Regions from separate parts of the Homo sapiens genome. Here region 2 is linked to region 1. Evidence: promoter capture Hi-C in human tissues and cell types (Jung and others, 2019). All regions are on one chromosome and are shown on one strand. The core of a region is centred on a gene start or on the middle of the fragment in contact, and the rest is flanking DNA. Distances in the headings are between cores, read along the strand shown. Region 1 holds the start of HHATL (hedgehog acyltransferase like). Region 2 overlaps NKTR (natural killer cell triggering receptor).

Region 1 (3,602 bases), core at 514-3,013:
CCTCTGGGGGTCAGGGTGTCTGTGGCTCTCTAATAGCCTCTGTTTATGAGCAAGGCTCTTGTCATGGAGTGAATCACCGGATGCCCCCTGCCACCCCAGTGAGGGCCAGGGCCAGCGGTATGCCCATTTTACAACTGAGGATCTGAGGCCCTAAGAAGTGGGTCACACCAGCTCAGGGTCAAGTAAATTGGCTGAACCTGTGTTCTTAACTCTGGGGTCAAACCACCCTGTCTGCTCCCTTGAGCCATTTTCTTGGAGCCTCGTGAGGGCCCCAGTGTGGGTGCACGGGGTTGTCGCCCCTGCAGGGCAGTCAGTGCCAGGAGCTTACAGGGCTGATCCAACTACTTGGCTTCCTCATGTGCCAGGTCCTTCTTCTCCCAACTGCGTACAGTGGCAACATCTTCCCTATGGGCTGTGGTGACATTAAAAAGTTAATCCATGTACATCCTGGCTACTATGATTAACTTACTCCTAACAACCTTTGACTACCCCTCCCTGAGGAAGCCCTCCTTAACCCTGAAGTCTGGCTCAGGTATCCTTCCCTTCCTGATGCTGGCCTCTCTAGTGCCCATTACCCACCACAGCTCTAACCCAGCACCCACACTGTGCAGTAGTCACCATTCATGCTTCTCAGGGTCGGGGACCACAGACACGGGCCTCTGTGTCCTGTGTGGAGTGTGTAGGTTGGGCGTCTCCTTGCTGTTCTCCAGGCCAGCGTGTCTATGTGCTCGGGAGGCAGCTCCCTGCCTAAGTGCAGTCTCTCCCCTTCCTGGGCCCTGATGGGTGGGGAGCAGCACCTCCCTCCTGCCTCCTCAACTGAGCCTGAAGCTGGGGTCATAGGATCAGCAGGGGCTCCAGGAGCTGTCCTGTGACTGATCACAGCCACAAAGCTCCTTCTACCCCCGAGAGCCTCCCCACAAGCACACAGGTGAACAGGTCCCCCTAGATAGCACAGACACATACAGCTGCCCGAGACTTGGCCTCAACCGAAGGGGCACTGTCAGAGGTTCTTAATCTCAGGGGCACCTTCAGGATGCCCCTCCCCTCAGGTATCCAGGGCTGAGGCCTTGGATGCTCCCTTCCAGAATGAGGGCCCTGTCCTACCAGGACTCCCAGTTGGTTAGGAACACACCTGTCTTCCTGTCTGCCTCCACTCTGCCACCGAGAGGATACCAGCCATTCCAAGTACCCACAAGCCTTGCCAAGTGACCCTGCTAGCACCCCTCCATCCAGGACACTCCCTATGGGACAGGGCTGACTTATGGGGATCCCTCTCAGCCACATGTCCCATGCCAGTTCCAGTCCCATCAGGCAAGTCAGCCCTCCCTCAGGCACTGATGCATGGCCAGCCAGGACTCACGGCATAATGAAAAGGACCAGGTCATGGGGCGAGACAAGTCTGCCCTGGGATAGCCCTTAGGAGGTCATATGTAAAGGTAGGAGCTGGAGTCCCTGGAGCCCAAGCATGAAAGTGTTTGCATGTTGTGACTGTGTGTGTCTGTGGTGGGGGCAGGGCTTACAAGCCTGGAGAGGCTGGTGGGACCACCAGGAGTCTTCCTGGAAGAGGGAAGTCCTGGGTAGCAGTGAGAGAGAGGCACAGGCTCTCTAGGAGCCAGGGGAGGCAGGCTGAAGAGAGGCCCAGGTGTCCCTGTCTGAGCCTATGCTACTGGACACCCTCCCCCCACCCAGCACCCGCCCCCCTTCAAGGATCCTCCCTGCGGCTCCCTGTGGCCAGCAGCTCTGCAGCACTCGGCTCTGCTCCACTCTGCTCAGCTCCGCTCCAGGAAGGCCACCTCCTCCTCCCCCTCCTCCTCCCGCTGTCACCACTCACCGCTCATAACCTCAAGGGGGTGGGGACCCCAGGGCTGGACACACCCCACCGTGGCCCCAGAGCTCAGCCGGTCGCACGGACGGACAGTTGGAAGCCGGACCCCAGAGCCTGAGGTGGGCAGTGTGCCAGGGTCCCTTGCGGCCTCCTCAAGGTCAGTGCCAGCTGGGGATGCAGCTACTCTGGGGCTCTTGAGACTTGTGGGGCACACCCCAGGCCCTCATCCCAAATCACAGGCCCCAAAAGGGGCTTTACCCCCGGGGCATCTGGGGCAGGCAGGACCAGGGGAAAGGGTATGCCCCCGTGTCCACAGGCCAGCCCTGGTCTGGGGGTCTATCAGGAGAGGCCCCAGGCTGGGGGCCAGCTCCTTGCAGAGGCCTCACTGGGGACACCCCGCACCGGCCATGGGGAGCTAAAATTGGAAAGTGGCGAGTGGGAGGCAGCTGACAAAGCTATTTCACGGGCTCTTCACCATGCTCCGGTTTCAAGCTCCTGCTCCATTAACCTGATCCCCAGGGCCTCTCCACCCCCACCCAACTGATGAGGAGGTGCCTCCACCCTCAGGCCGACAGCACAGCCATCAGGCTGGCAGCCTCTGCTGTGGGCAGGGGCAGTGGTGGTCTTCTCTTACCCCAGATTCCAGAGGGGGGTCACTGAGAAACCCAATCCTGAAGGGAGGCAGGCAGAAGTCTGTCCCAGGTCTGCCATGTGACCTTGACAGGTCCCTGCCCCTATCTGGCCCATGACCCCTCCATCTGTACGAGGAGACCGTCGGCTGCTGGGGGGCCCAGGGGAGATGGCTACAGGGCTGGGGATGAAGATTTAGGGGAGGATCAAGGGTGGGCAAAAGGGCCACATCAGCCACCTCTTGGCCCCGTCAGCCCAAGAGTTGCCTGGACATGTTCCCTGCTTCCTCCCTTTAATTTGGGTCCTATGTCTGTATCCATGGAGTCCTTGGGAAGCCCCTGAGCCAGGCTGAAGCGGGATAGGAAGGGTAAAGGTGCTAGCTGAGCCGTAGTACGGCCCAGCAGTTCTCCAGGGGACAAGCTAGGCCCCCGCTGGAGGGAGTGGTGAGACTCAGCCGGGGCCTGATTCTGGTCAGCACCTTGGACAGCAGCCAGTGCCCTCCCTGGCCCCGCCTGGCCCCGCCTGGCCCCACATCCGCTACTCCTGGGCACCTCCTCAAATAGCACAGCCTCCAGCTGGTGCCCAGGGCCTGAATACACAGAGCGCTGAGAGAGTGGGGCAGTGTGGTCACGGACACAGGCAGGGACTGGGATGTGACAGGCTGGAGCTCAGGGACTTGTTGGGGGAATGGGGGTCAGTGACAGGCTGGAGGCTTAATGCGAGGATGGAGGCTTGGCTCTAGGGGCAGCACCTGGGGTGGTCATGGGATCTCAGGGAGGGGAGTGGGAGTCAGAGAAAGGGTCTTAGAGAAGCTGGGGCTTTGTGAGGAGCTAAGGGAGACTCACTGATCGAGGTGGGGACCCTGCAGGCAGAAACCTGACTGTAGTGATAGAGGTGGGGTTTCTCCGCACGCAGGTCATGGGGGCCTTGGCAGGAGCGGTTTTGGCAGAGGGTGGGGCCGGTGCCTCTGGAAGGTATGAAGATGTAAATGAAGGTGAGGGAGGCAGGCTGCGAGTGAGGGCTCTGCGGGCAAGAGCCTTGATGGGTGGGGTGGGGGCAAGAGCAGCAGCTGGGATGGGGCACTGGTGTTCGGTGGCCTGTGAACTGTGGGGGGCACAGGGGCAGGCAGAGTGATGGTACAAGGTCC
Region 2 (3,491 bases), core at 339-2,838, 77 kb after region 1:
CCTTTCAATATTTATGCATTTCCATTTTTCTCTTGTACTTAAAGACAGTGATTTTTCAGTTTTCCCGACCCCTGAATCTACTTTAAAAAACATGTGTGCAAGGTATTTAAGCCTTATAAATCTTAGAAATTGACAAGTGTCACTGCTACTCCAAAAACAATCTATAGTTTTATACCATTATCAGAGAACCTTTTGCCCTTATACAGAAATGACTAATTCCACACTGAAATGAGAACTAAAACCATACTATAAACTAATAACCCCACTCCCCCACCAGAAGATGTACAGGAACTTGGTGGAAACAAGCCACTGAAGTTAAAATATAGTTCCCAGGATTAACCATGAAAAATAAAATGCACTTGTTTTACATGTACTGCTGCTATACAGATAAAGCAGAAAGTTTTTTTTTTTCTTAAAATGTTTCAATGCACATAACAACAGAATTAAAGAGATAAAGGCAAAGAGAGAGAGAGCCTTAGAGTAATGAGACATTACCTTTGGAGCGCACGGTGTAACACTCTTTCTGTAAATTTTACACAAAAATGGCAAGAAATAAATTGTAATACACTTTTAAGACAAGACTGAATCTATGTTTTAATATCAATATAACTTTGAAATTAATTATTTTCAAGTTTTATGCAGAGCAAGAAAGCTTTTTTAAATGGAGGGCTCTAAATTTTCTTTCATATGGGATATTTACGTAGAGATGAATTATGCTTAAGAAAAGCATCGTGGCTAAGTGGGAATCTATTTAGATCCTTAATATTGTAACATAGAGTGCCAATAATAGCTATTAACATATTACATTTCCTTTCACAAATCCCAGAAATTAGCTAAGACAACATTTTCTCAAAAGAGAATAGTGTATCTTGCATACATACATAAATATAAAAATCTGAATGCCCAGGACCAGTTACTACCAGTTGAAAGCAAAAATTTCATTAGAAAAAAGTGAGTTAAGATCATCCAAAATAAAATTTCAAGGAACTTTTAACTAATTCACATCAAATAATTAAAGAACCTTTCATGCTTCTACATTTGAAACCTTTGTTTGGTGACGTATCACAACAGACTACTTTCAGGAGTTAATGAGCAAATGTTCGGACCCTAGTTACTGTTCAGTGATATTAGATACACATTGAAGTTAAGTCACTGAACATAATAATAAAGCAGCATTAACTACAATTTTAGGGACCTTCTCAGAGAATAAAAAGGCAAGAGAGATGAAAGCGTAAGTGCAGTCAAATCTTAGCCACAATATCTTCTTTTCCTGTCTAATCTCTGATTTTCCCCATTATCAAGATTTTTTTTTGGAGAACACACACTGACCAATTTTTATCTATATTTAAACAAATAAATCTATTACTACTCAGATCAAAATACTATTATACCATGAACAAAATGCTTTATAAGAGTTTTGAATGTAATAAATCTTGAAATATTTAAAAATAAGCTTAAAATTATCATAAAGGCATTGACAACATGAATAAGTCAAAAAAGAACATAATGTTTGAAATAATGTGGAGTTTTCAATGAATGTTGCAAAAAAAAAAAATAAGTGACTGTAGGTGTAAAGTAGTACAGAAGAGGGAAATAAAGATAACTTCTGTCCACTTTAGCTTTTAACATGCAATGCTTTCCCTTCAACTCCTGAAACTATCACACTGTCAGGGAAGAGGCACCAAATTGTACAGAATGACAACACTTGTATAAGGGTAATGGAAACTAACCAAGCCACTTGACAATGCTCTACCCATGTGTTCCAAAAGTCACCAAAATAGAAGTGCTTTCTAAAATTCAGCACTAATGTTAAGATAATACACACCAAACATTACTAGATAAAAAATTTCTTCCACATTGCTAGCACGTAAGTCACATAAACATTAAGTTATTAAGCCTGAATGTTAGGGATGACACTTGATATTCAGAGAATATGGTTTATGGCTAAGTTTCACGAACATCTTTGCTCATGAAAAAATCTGAAATTAACATATGAAGGTATTACCCCAAAAAAAGGAAGGAAAAAGCTAGAGCTTCTCAGGTTATTAACACTTACTAGCATTTCTTCTTACATAAATTTATGAATACGTGGGTAGAAAAAGCATTTCTACCCCGAATCTAGTTTTATTACCCAAAACATCAACACAGCTTTACAAACCCCTTAAAACCAACTACTCCTCAACTCTCCTTGCTCCACTACTTTGTAATAATCAGCACTTCTCTCCCATTCAGGTACTTGCAAGTCAGATTCTTAAATGACATAAAACATATTCTAAAACTTATGCCCCGCCCCCCCATTGCCCTATTTATGACTGTTAAAATGTAGCAAACATGTTTTGTTTAAAGTTCAAAGTTTGACTCTTCTATATTATCTTGTTTTCTTACATTGTTATAATTATTAATGACCACTGACAGTGGCCAGTGACAGGAACTGTTCTTGCAGGGTCTGCAGATCCCTACTCTATGGCTGCGCAGACTCATGTTCTAACAGCAGCTGATGAAGAGACTTCTGTTGCTCTTGATTTAAGATGAGCCCAATACTTCTTTAAGACATTTTTCAGACTAATGAAAACTAGGCAATTATGACTATTTCCATTAGGCAAGACAATGTTTGCACATAAATCATTCCACACATTCAGGAACTTACAACTACCCTACAAAATACCTTCTTCCTTTTACATCCATATTTTTATACCAATGTTTAAGAAAAACGAACTGAAGGTACATAGGAAACTAAAATCAAGGTTTCCTGACAGCTATATTAGTGTCCTATCCCAGAAGTTACTACAAAGCTATAAACTATTTACTCAATCTTTTTCATGACTATTTTATACAACATCTTTGTCTTTTTGATTAATGTATATAAAGACAAAAAAATTACAGCCAGAATTAATAAGCTATCAGTAACAGCAAAAGGGGAAAGAATGTTTCCCCAAATGTCATTTTGTTTTCCAGCAAAATGTTTGATGCTTCTAATCCTTAACTAAAATAAATTCAGAGCAGAGTGGTTAATAAAATTTTGAGCTTAAATAAGCTTAAATTTATAGTAAAGGCATTAATAATATGAATAAGTATGCAGCATTCTTTTTCTAGCTATCAGTTTCTTCCAGATTGTAAATAAAATTTCTATAACCTGGACTTTACATGACTTTTCAAGAATTTAGCATAATCTACAGAATGAAAAGGTTGGACTAGATAATCTCTAAATCCCTTTCCACTCTATGACTTTATAATTCCAGCTTTTATTGTGGTTTCTTCCTATTCTTTAACCTAAAAAATAAGAATACAAAGGACAAAATAAATACCAAATTAACTTGGTAACTTTAGTCCCAAATCTTTGAATTTCTTCAAAAATGTTCAAAATAAAACCACTGTTTCTTTAGTGATTCATGGGTATAGTGCCATATATCACTTCTTCCACATTTCTTGAGCAGTACTATTCCAAAAAGAATCAAGTTTTCTTCTATATAGACCCCCGAGAGCAAAATCAT

Evidence for each region. The method cuts DNA at HindIII sites, captures the fragments that hold promoters and counts their contacts. A contact is called where the count stands out against the background at its distance.
Region 2: a fragment that was not itself captured here is called in contact with the fragment with the promoter of HHATL in region 1 in 5 of the 25 tissues and cell types used here (bladder, heart right ventricle, neural progenitor cells and 2 more).

The regions. Positions count from the first base shown.
Region 1 is chr3:42,700,959-42,704,560 of GRCh38, reverse strand. HHATL (hedgehog acyltransferase like) reads left to right here and starts at 1,763. Exons shown (of 12, transcript NM_020707.4): 1 at 1,763-1,982. HHATL-AS1 (HHATL antisense RNA 1) reads right to left here and starts at 2,020. Exons shown (of 3, transcript NR_146957.1): 1 at 1,832-2,020; 2 at 329-412. It also overlaps a transcript of CCDC13 not described here. RefSeq lists a silencer at 2,978-3,047. The HindIII fragment of the contact is 15,374 bases long and covers 1-3,602 here.
Region 2 is chr3:42,624,232-42,627,722 of GRCh38, reverse strand. The region is part of intron 6 of NKTR (natural killer cell triggering receptor); the gene reads right to left. All of the region lies in intron 1 of ZBTB47-AS1 (ZBTB47 and NKTR antisense RNA 1), which reads left to right. Among named protein-coding and RNA genes, the nearest start is that of NKTR, 25 kb to the right of the region's middle. The HindIII fragment of the contact is 4,741 bases long and covers 1-3,491 here.